Regions from separate parts of the Homo sapiens genome. Here region 1 is linked to region 2. Evidence: promoter capture Hi-C in 16 types of primary human blood cells and fetal thymus (Javierre and others, 2016). All regions are on one chromosome and are shown on one strand. Each heading gives the region's core, a stretch centred on a gene start or on the middle of the fragment in contact. The rest is flanking DNA. Distances are from core to core; before and after follow the strand shown.

The links. Contacts are between HindIII fragments. The CHiCAGO score rates a contact against its expected background, and 5 or more counts as called.
Region 1: a fragment that was not itself captured here is called in contact with the fragment with the promoter of LINC02453 in region 2 in 10 of 17 cell types (non-activated CD4 T cells, fetal thymus, naive CD8 T cells and 7 more); the score reaches 9.5 in non-activated CD4 T cells.

Annotation. Positions count from the first base shown.
Region 1 is chr12:98,549,644-98,555,159 of GRCh38, forward strand. It overlaps TMPO (thymopoietin), which reads left to right. Exons shown (of 9, transcript NM_001032283.3): 9 at 1-708. Among named protein-coding and RNA genes, the nearest start is that of TMPO-AS1, 36 kb to the left of the region's middle. The HindIII fragment of the contact is 2,293 bases long and covers 1,288-3,580 here.
Region 2 is chr12:98,502,086-98,507,503 of GRCh38, forward strand. It overlaps LINC02453 (long intergenic non-protein coding RNA 2453), which reads right to left and starts at 1,770. Exons shown (of 4, transcript NR_038383.1): 1 at 1,675-1,770; 2 at 498-527. It overlaps TRD-GTC1-1 (tRNA-Asp (anticodon GTC) 1-1), which reads left to right and starts at 1,418; the gene lies at 1,418-1,489. It overlaps TRW-CCA4-1 (tRNA-Trp (anticodon CCA) 4-1), which reads left to right and starts at 2,167; the gene lies at 2,167-2,238. RefSeq lists enhancers at 1,508-1,817, 1,828-2,127. The HindIII fragment of the contact is 12,452 bases long and covers 1-3,240 here.

The sequences.
Region 1 (5,516 bases), core at 1,184-3,683, 48 kb after region 2:
TAAAGCACACTAAAAATGTAAGTTATTTTTAAATACATCTGAAATAAAAATACTTACTAAAAAGGAAGAAGCCGAAGATGTATATTTAGACCAGCACACAATTTTGATTTCAATTAGCCTTATTCTAATATTTAGCTTTTAGATCTTTCATACACATTTTCACGTACTTTGCAATTGAGACCAGAAAGACTTGTAGGTCTTTCTGCAGAATGAGTGGGTCCTTGCAAAGTGAGTGGGAAACTTACTCCTAGATCAGAAATGTTTGCCTCTCTGAGTAAAATGTTTCTTTCAGATGAGCCATAGAGGGGGCACCTTTTACTCAACTTTTCTTTGTTTTGAAACTTTGTTTCCCATACTGTTTTCAGCCTTTTGTTTATAATTAGAAATTGTGAGAAGCTTCATTTAGTGTTTAAAAATGTGGGGAGATAAATCAGACTTAACATGTATGTAAGATCAATTCACTTAAAAGTATGGTCCAAATAGCAAAAATAGGACCAGGTGAAACATGTAGTCATTTTTTAAAAACATGTACTTGGTCTTTTGTGTGTGTCTGTTTTATTCCATTAGAATAAATGTGTCCTTGATGTAAATGCAAAGCATTTCTTCCTGATTAAATTGTAGATGTAGACTTTACAATATAATTCAATAATAAAAAGTAATTAACCTCTAGTTTTGTCGTTGCAATAAATGGTTTTCAGATAGCACAAACTGTGATTTCTGGATAACATTTCTTATGTGATATTTATGGATTATTGTGTTTTATTTCAGTCTGTTCATATGTTTTACTTCTTATTGTAATCGGGTTCTCGTTTATTCAAAGGTAAGCAATGTGTAGCTACTGTACTCACAGAATGACATTAAGCGCTCCAAGGCACCTCTCCCACACCTAGTTCCTTTTTCCCACCACTTTTACTGTCTTTAGTATTTACCTATGACCCTTATGATTGTTAGTCTTGCTTTGAGACTAAGCCCGTGTCACTGTGATACGTCATGGAGCTGTGCTCACAAGATGAAAGTGCCATTATGTCTTCCTCATTCATGTGTCCCCAGAGGTGATTTGACTTAAATTAGTGTTTCTCAAGGTAGTATAGACACCATAATTAATTATAAGGCAAATCGCATCAAAGGCTTAAAACAACAAGTTTTATTGCATGCTTACCATGTGCTAGGTACTTTTCTATGTGCTTAATATGTATTGATTCACTCAATCCTCACGATAATCCTATGGAGTAGGCATTTTCGTAATATCATTACAAATGAGGAAACTGATGGTTAGAGGTGTTAGGAAGCTTCTTCATGTTTGCACACAGCTGAGAAGTGATGGCTCTGGTTGCATATAATATGGCAGAGGGAACCTAAAACAAACAATTCTCTGTTTACATGCTTTAAACCAGTTCTGTGTTCAGCCCTGCTCCTTTCACAACTTTGGTGGTGCCTTCTGAGTTTCAAACCTCTGAAGCGTTCTTTTGGGTAAAGTAGCTCACTCCTAGTTTTTCTTGTTTTTGTTTTTGTTTTCTTTGAGACAAGGTCTCACTTAATCTTTCTCTGTGGCTATTTAAATCTTCTGGCCAGGTATGGTGGCTCACACCTACAATTCTAGAACTTTGGGAGGCCGAGGCAGGCAGATCACCTGAGGTCAGGAGTTCAAGAGCAGCCTGGCCAACATGGCAAGACAATTTTTAGTCTCTACTAAAAATACAAAAATTAGCCAGGTGTGGTGGTGGGTGCCTGCAATCCCAGCTACTCGGTAGGCTGAGGCAGAAGAATGACCCGAACCTGGGAGGCAGAGGTAACACTCCAGCCTGGGTGACAGAGTGAGACTCCATTTCAAAACAACAACAGTAATAATAAATTTAAGCCTTATTTAATTTTGCTAATTTTTCTGTTTCTTAATCTTTTTTTTTTTTTTTTTTTTTTGACAGAGTCTTGCTCTGTCGCCCAGGCTGGAGTGCAGTGGCGCCATCTTGGCTCACTGCAACCTCTGCCTCCAGGGTTCAAGTGATTCTCCTGTCTCAGCTTCCCGAGTAGCTGGTACTACAGGTGCGCCGCCATGCCCAGCTAATTTTTGTATTTTTAGTAGAGACGGGGTTTCGCCATGTTGGGCAGGCTGGTCTTGAACTCCTGACCTCAAGTGATCCTCCCAAAGTGCTGGGATTACAGGCGTGAGCCACCACCCCTGGCCTAATTTGTTTTTGTTTGTTTTTTTTTTATCTTCCAGGCAGCTTTTTGAAGTATCTTTTGCTATCTCACTCTACCTCTTTGTCATTGTGTTAAACCCTTTTTTATTCCCTTATCAGTATTCAAGTCTCAGTAGAAATAGGCTGTAAGCATGTGGTCAGCCTGTCACCTTGAATTGATGGTCACTGAGAGCTTTTCGGGATTCACATATCCTTTCCACCAAAGATTTGGGGAGAAAGTAGAGGAGCAGACATAGGGTTTGAGTGCAAGGGGTCTCCATGTGTTTTGTTAAGTTCTCCTAATTATGGAATCATTAGTTGAATCGACAACATTTATACTATATTTACAGTGTTTTTAAATGGATTGAAATTTATTAGTTACCAAATTTTGCCACTTAATGCAACAGACATTTGATACTTTCTCTGTGGTGAATAACAATGTGTAGTTGACGGTGCTTGGGTGCAGTTTTAGAATTTTCTGTGAACTTGAGGCACTCTTTGGGGAAGTTGTTTTTTTTAAAAGCATCTGACGCTGGGTGTGGTAGCTCATGCCTGTAATCCCAGCACTTTGGGAAGCCGAGATGGGTGGGTCACCTGAGGTCAGGAGTTTCAAGACCAGCCTGGCCAACATGGCGAAACCTTGTCTACTAAAAGTACAAAATTAGCTGGGGGTAGTGGTGCACCCCTGCAGCCCCAGCTACTCAGGAGACTGAGGCGGGAGAATCGCTTGAACCTGGGAAGTGGAGGTTGCAGTGAGCCGAGATCGTGCCATTGCACTCTAGTCTGGGTGACGAGCAAAACTCTGTCCCAAAAATAATAACGGGCTGGGCACGTTGGCTCACGCCTGTAATTCCAGCACTTGGGGAGGCCGAGACGCGGAGCACCTGAGGTCAGGAGTTTGAGACCAGCCTGACCAATATGATGAAACCCCACCTCTACTAAAAATACAAAAATTAGGCGGGCATGGTGGCATGTGCCTGTAATCCCAGCTACCCAGGAGGCTGAGACAGGAGAATCGCTTGGACCCGAGAGGTGGAGGTTTTAGTGAGCCGAGATCTTGCCATTGCACTCCAGCCTGGGCACAATCTAGCCTGGGCAACAAAGGCGAAACTCCCATCTTAAAAAATAATAAAAATAAAATTGAAACATATTGTCTATTCTAGTAACTAATAGCCATATAGGTTTATTAGCAATTTAAATATTGCTATTGTTCATTGTATTGAGAGAAACTAATGACCTTATAGTCAAATAACTAAAAATTTGCTTATTTTGGAATAAATAAAAGCTAAGTATGAAAATTCAGTCCTGACAATAGACCACTAATGACTTTATTGTCCAGAAATTGACACATTGGTCTTGTGACAGTGAATACATTTTCCTTCCTTTTGGAGGAAGGGGATGTAAGCTTTTAGGAGCTATAAATGCATTTCCAACTTACGTTTATGATGAGTTTATTGGCACATATACCCCATCATAAGTTGAGCATCTCTACATGTCACATCATGATGGACCCAACAGACAATGTTGAATGGAGCAAGCCTGGGAAAAAGTAGGGCATTGTTCCATTCAGAATTCCTAATGTAGAAAAGCAAAAATAGTCCATGGCGATAGAAGTCAGAATACTACATACCTTTAGGGAGGAGTGGCTATTAACTGAGTATGAGAGATTCTTGCAAGGTGATAGAAATGTTTGTGTCTTGGCCAGGCGTTGTGGCTTTTGCCTGTATTCCCAGCTCCTGGGAGGCCAAGGCAGGAGGATCACTTAAGCCCAGGAATACAAAACCAGCCTGGTTAACATAATGAGACCCTATTTCTTTTGTTTTTCTTCAGGAAATACGTAGGTGTGGTGGCTCATGCCTATAGTCCCACCTACTCAGGAGATGACCCTATCTTTAAAAAAAAAAAAAAAATTTATCCAAACTGAAGCAGAGAGAGGAAAAGGCTAAAAAGCACCTCAACAAAGCCTCAGTAACCTGTGTGTGAGACAATATCTAGCAGTCTTTTTTTTCTTTTTGAGACGGAGTTTTCGCTCTTGTCGCCCAGGCTGGAGTGCAATGGCGCGATCTCGGCTCACCGCAACCTCCGCCTCCTGGGTTCAAGCGATTCTCCTGCCTCAGCCTCCCGAATAACTGGGATTACAGGCATGCGCCTCCACGCCCGGCTAATTTTGCATTTTTAGTAGAGGCGGGGTTTCTCCATGTTGGTCAGGCTGGTCTCAAGAACTCCTGACCTCAGGTGATCCGCCCGCCTCGGCCTCCCAAAGTGCTAGGATTACAGGCGTGAGCCACCGCGCCGGGCCAATATCTAGCAGTCTTTCATAGATGTAATGGTAATACCAGGGGATGAGAGAGTGCAGGGGGAAAAATAATTTCTTAAGAAATGGCTGAAAATTTACTAAGTTCCCAGAAACTATATAAGCCCAAGTATGGGAAGTTCAAGTGACCCCAAAACAAAGTCAAACCAAGGCAACTGTGGCCGGGCGCGGTGGCTCATGCCTGTAATCCCAGCACTTTGGGAGGCCGAGGCGGGCGGTTCAGGAGATCAAGAGATTGAGACCATCCTGGCTAACACGGTGAAACCCCGTCTCTACTAAAAATACAAAAAGAAATTAGCCAGACGTGGTGGTGCATGCCTGTAGTCCCAGCTACTCTGGAGGCTGAGGCAGGAGAATGGCGTGAACCCCGGGAGGCAGAGCTTGCAGTGAGCCGAGATCGCGCCACTGCACTCCAGCCTGGGCGACAGAGTGAGACTCCGTCTCAAAAAAAAAAAAAAAAAAAAAACAAGGCAACTTTAGTGAAGCTATTGCGTACCAGTTTATGATAAAGGGTGGGGGAAGAAAAACAATGAAAGACAACTTAGCAACTGGAGAAAACTGTACACATGACATGGGTAATCAGCAATTAGTTACTACTACTCATTAGTAATAGTGCAAGTCAGACAGTAATGAAACATCTTTAAAGTGATGAAAGAAATATCAGTGTAGATACCCAGCAAAAATATCCTTCAAAATAAAGGTATCTTCAGATTAAACTACAAATGGAAAAGAATACTAGATTAAAACTGGAATTACACAAAGGAATGAAGAGTGCCAGAAATGGTAAATTTATGGCTAAAGACTTTATTGTTTTTCTTTAAAAAGTAGTTTACTGTTCAATACAAAATTGTAGTCATGTATTGTGGGATGTGAAATGTAAAATGTATGTCAATAAAGATAAAAAATGAATATTGTTATCACGTTCTTATATGTAGATTAATATTATTTGAAGATAGACTGTAATAGGTTAAAGATGCATATTGTAAACCCTAAGGTAGCCATTAATAACAAAACAGAGGTATAGC
Region 2 (5,418 bases), core at 520-3,019:
GAGAAAATCAAAAGTTTATAGCCAGGCGCGGTGGCTCACGCCTGTAATCCCAGCACTTTGGGAGGCCGAGGTGGGTGGATCACCTTAGGTCAGGAGTTCGAGACCAGCCTGACCAACGTGGTGAATTACCATCTCTACTAGAAACACAAATTGAACGGGCGTGTTTGTGGGCACCTGTAATCCCAGCTACTCGGGAGGCTGAGACAGGAGAATCGCTTGAACCCGGGGGACGGAGGTGGTAGTGAGCCAAGATCGCACCACTGCACTCCAGCCTGGGCAACAAGAGTGAAACTCCGTCTCAAAAAAAAAAGTTTACATATAAGGCTCTCTTAGTATCCCTGGGAAGAGGGTTCATCCTGTCTATGAACGGGTTTAGGATGACACAAATTATCAAATTATCCGATTAGTGCACTTTCCTAACCCATATGTTTAATCAGTGGCACATCCTGGTTTTGAATTATTTAAACGCATTATTATTTAGCCATTCACATACTTACGTTTGTCACTTCCAGTTAAACTGTAGCCACCTACAGAGAGCGAAACAGAAGTCGGCTGATAAAATTTTGATAAAATTTCATTTGCCCGCAGCTGGTCATTTCATTGGGCGCTTTTGTGTTACAAAAGTGTGTGAATTGGCCGGGCGCGGTGGCTCACGCCTGTAAATCCCAGCACTTTGGGAGGCCGAGGCAGGTGGATCACTAAAGGTCACGAGTTCGAGACCAGTCTGGCCAACATGGTGAACCCTCCCCCCCCCCACACACACACACACACCCCGCGTCTCTAGTAAAATACAAAAATTAGCCAGGCATGGTGGTGCGCGCCTGTAATCCCAGCCACTCGAGAGGCTGAGGCGGGAGAATCACTTGAGCCTTGGAGGTGGAGGTTGTAGTGAGCCCAGATCGCAACACTGCACTCCAGCCTAGGGGACAGAGCGAGACTTCCTCTCAAAAAAAAAAGACTTATGAATTGTTTGAAGAGGCACGAGACCGTGGCAACCCTAACTGTCCCCGACATCTGGCAGCCATATGCTATCCTTGAACTTGAACTTCAGAGTGAAAGTATAAATTTGTAAGGGGAAGGCTCAGCCGCAAGTCACATACCAGTGGTCAGTTAAAAAAAAAAAACTCAGGACGGCAACCTAAATCATTTAGAACGCGTCAAGAGCCTCGGAAAAACTATTTTCACACACTTCTCTAGCACTAACATGGGAAGCGCGTTTCCTTCACATATTCCACACCTTTTATTCTTCCCACCAACATCAAGAATACAAAGCGCCCAGAGAGGACAATAAGCCTAAGCAGCGGCTCCAAGAGACCGGACTTTCGTACTTCCCGGGGGCAGGCGGAAGGTTACGGAGCGCTGGAAGGATCTTACTGCTCCTTGAAGGGCTGTCTGAGAAAATACACAGCCTAACGACTCCTCGTTAGTATAGTGGTTAGTATCCCCGCCTGTCACGCGGGAGACCGGGGTTCAATTCCCCGACGGGGAGGTGTGTAGCTGCACTTTTTTGGCGACAGTTATTATTTTCTGTATCATTCAATGACAGGACACTGCTGTTAAACATAATATGCTAAACCAGCTCCCTTAAGTGCACAACCCTGTCTTCAAAATGGTGACTTTTAACCTTAATGCCCACCATGAAGTGAAAGCCTCCCCTGAGAGAAAATGCCTTACATTGTTTGCAGGAAGGGAGGAAAGGGAAAAAGAAAACGCTCTGAAGGCCTCTGCCCTTGCCTCCAGCCGCCATCTTGCGAAGGCCTGCGCCGGCTTAGTGGCGCCCCGCCAGATTACAACTCGAGGTCGCGAACTCAGCGCGCGGAACCTGTTGGGGGAGGGGAGAGAGGGCGGAGTCTCGCGACTAACGGGGCGGGGGCAGGGCGGGTAAGAACGGAAATCATTTGGTAAAGAAAAGGAAGGGCCAATTTCCTTTGATCCTGGAGACCCGACTAAACGGGAAGCCCCGTTCTCCCGCTTCCGCTGGTTACGTCCCAGCCTTGGTTAGAGGACTAGCAGTCAGGAAAGTTTGGACGCTGAAGGAATCGGTCTCCTGGTCCGACAGATACTGGGTGGAGGGGCAGAGAGTAAATGGAAGAGAAAGACTGGTACCCCTGGAAGAAACGCCATTTACTGGTGTCCTAAGAAACTGCGCGAGCCACAGCCCAGCAGGACCTCGTGGCGCAACGGTAGCGCGTCTGACTCCAGATCAGAAGGCTGCGTGTTCGAATCACGTCGGGGTCAAACTTTTTTTTTTTCCTCCTGTATTTTAAACTACCGACTACTAGAAGCCGAGGTGTATTCCTGCCGCCAATTTTCTTGAATGTTAGAATTAAGTTTTCCTCTTTCAGGTATTATGATACTAATCCTTGGTTTGCAGGAAGATATGATTTACTCTATATCGAAGAGCCTCAAGGCTGATGTTTTTATCATTTGGCCTTTTAAAGTGAGTTTTTTTGTCACTTAACATGCATAATGTGTAAAGAGGTGGACTATTACTGCTGTGCATTAGTGGGTGTATCAGTCCACTAGTCTATCACAGGAAGTGTACAATATACTGTACAAGCTGTTTTTTCCAAACAGTTTTAGGCTGTTTGCCTTTTGAAAGAGAGTACAATAGTGTACAATTTCTAATTTTGAATATTATGCTAATCAAGTGTCTTAGCCCTTACCATGTGCCAACACTGTGAACAACCTCACAATGTGTGACTATTATCCCACTTTTACAAATGTGGCTGTGGCTCACAGGGTTAGTGACCTGCCAAGGGTCACCCAAGATTCTGAACCAGGTGAGGGACTCTGGATCCCTCTTTATAAATACTTTATAATAAAGGTGGAAACAAACAGTTGAAAGAATGTGTGACTGCCAGGCTCAGTGGCTTACACCTGTAATCCTAGCACTTTGGAAGGCCAAAGTGGGTGGATCACGAGGTCAGGAGTTCAAGACCAGCCTGACCAACATGGTGAAACCCCATTTCTACTGAAAATACAAAAATTAGCTGGGCATGGTGGGGTGCACCTGTAATCCCAGCTACTCCGGAGGCTGAGGCAGAAGAATTGATTGAACCCGGGAGGCGGAGGTTGCAGTGAGCCTGGGTGACCAAGCAAGACTCCTTCTGGAGGTGGGTGGCGGGGAGGAATGTGGGAAAAGCTGTTGGACTGGGCGCCTTTTATGTTTTCACCGATTATGCGAGTGATGACTAGTCACCACTTTTGACTATTAATCTCTTTAATAGCAGGAAGCAAAGCTTGCTCGTTCACATTTGCAAGCTCCAGGACTCTTAGTACTAAATAGTGCCCTACACGTAAGTGTCAAATATTTGTTGAACAGAAAATGAATAGCAAGACTATGAGAAATTAATAGTTTTAGATTTTGATGATATGTTTTGTAAAATTCCTGAGGTTTTCTGCTTAGTATTTTGAAAATACCAAACACTAATTTCTTTTGATTCAACCTAATGTAGCAGTATACCTGGAAATTATATTTGCACATGGTGTGGTTTGTTCTTCCCTCTCCTGTTTGGATTAAAATTAGATCATCCATTTCAACGGGTATTTATGGACTGTCAACTCTGATGAGCCTGATACTGTGCTAAGTACTAAGGATGAGGATACACTGAGTAAAAATGGGTTTTTTTGAGCATCAGGAGACAGATATGTTAAGCCACCAAACGCCATAATGTGTTGGGGTAAGTTCATGTTACTTGGTAAGAACCATGAAAGTAACATGAACAGAGTGGTATGGGGGTGCTAAAACAGTGGACAGTAACTCCACATTGGGTTGTATGAGGCTATAACAAGGTGATACAACCTCTCCATCTACATCACAAAAATATGGTTTTGTCCAAATGAGTTAACATGATTGGTCCAAGCTACGATATATGCAGTATATGCAAATGATGCCAGAGGGAAGAAATGGCTTCTGTTATGGGCTGAATTTTTTTTTTTTTTTTTTTTTTGAGATGGAGTCTCACCCTGTCGCCCAAGCTGGAATGCAGTGGCAACCTCCGCCTCCCAGGTTCAAACGATTCAGCCTCCCAAGTAGCTGGGATTACAAGTGCACCCCACTACACCCAGCTATTTTTTTGTTTGTTTGTTTGTTATCTTTAGTAGAGACAAGGTTTCACCATGTTGGCCAGGCTGGTCTTGAACTCCTGACCTCATGATCCACCTGCGTCAGCCTCCCAAAGTGCTGGGATTACAGGCGTGAGCCACCACACCCAGTTTATGGGCTGAATTTCATCTCCCCAACATTCATATGTTGAAGCCCTCACTCCTAGTACCTCAGAATGATCGTAAGACCTGATTAAGTACGCTAGGTGCAGTGGCTCACGCCTGTAATCCCAGCACTTTGGGAGGCCAAGGCAGGTGGATCACAAGATCAGGAGTTGGAGACCAGCCTTGCCAACATGGTGAAACCCTGTCTCTACTGGAAATAGAAAAATTAGCTGGGCGCGGTGGCGGGTGCCTATAATTCCAGCTACTCGGGAGGCTGAGGCAGGAGAATTGCTTGAACCCGGGAGGCAGAGGTTGCAGTGAGCCGAGATCGCACCACTGCACTCTAGCCTAGGTGACAGAGCAAGACTCTCTTTTAAAAAAAAAAAAAAAAAGACATTATTAAGTAAAAATGAGGCCATTAGGGTGGGCCCTAATCCAGTCTGACTGGTGTCATATTTATAAGAGGAAATTTGGACACACAGACACCAAGGATGTGTGCACACAGGGGAAAGGCCATGTGAGGATACAGCAAGAGAGTAGCCATCTACAAGCCAAGGTCTAGGAAGAAGCCAACCCTGCTGGCCTCTTGATCTTAGACTTCTAGCCTCAAGATCTCTGAGAAAATAAATATCTGTTTACTTTTATTATGGTAGCCCTGGCAAACGAATACAGCTTCCGTCAAGAACTACTAGTTCTGCAGAATGGCTGGAGAGGTAAATAGGCGTCAGCATACAGGATCAGTGTGCCATTCCAACTAATTTAGATTTTATTCTGAGGGCAATGCAGAACTATAATTCATGACTAAGACAATCCAGCCAGCTTCACAAAGACTAAAAAATGGCCAAGAACTGTTCCTGGACCACCATCCTGGGAATAAGTTAGAAATGCAAATTTTCAGGCCTCACCTCAGACCTACAGTCTCAGAAAATTGGGTGTGGGGCACAGCAACAAACCTTCCAGCCGTTTTGATGCAAGCTAAAGTTTGAGGACCTCCGGCCTATAAAGCAAGGCAAGACTAGACGTCCTACTTACCCCACAGGTTAAAAGGATCAAATAAGATAAAATACATCAAAATGTTTTTGAAGCTGTTATACATGTCATTATTAATACTGTTATGGCTCTAAAACTGTCACTTCCCAGGTCCCAGATTCTTTCCCAAGGCTGGACATCTGTAGTTTTTTAGAATGCTCCATCTGATGACTTTCT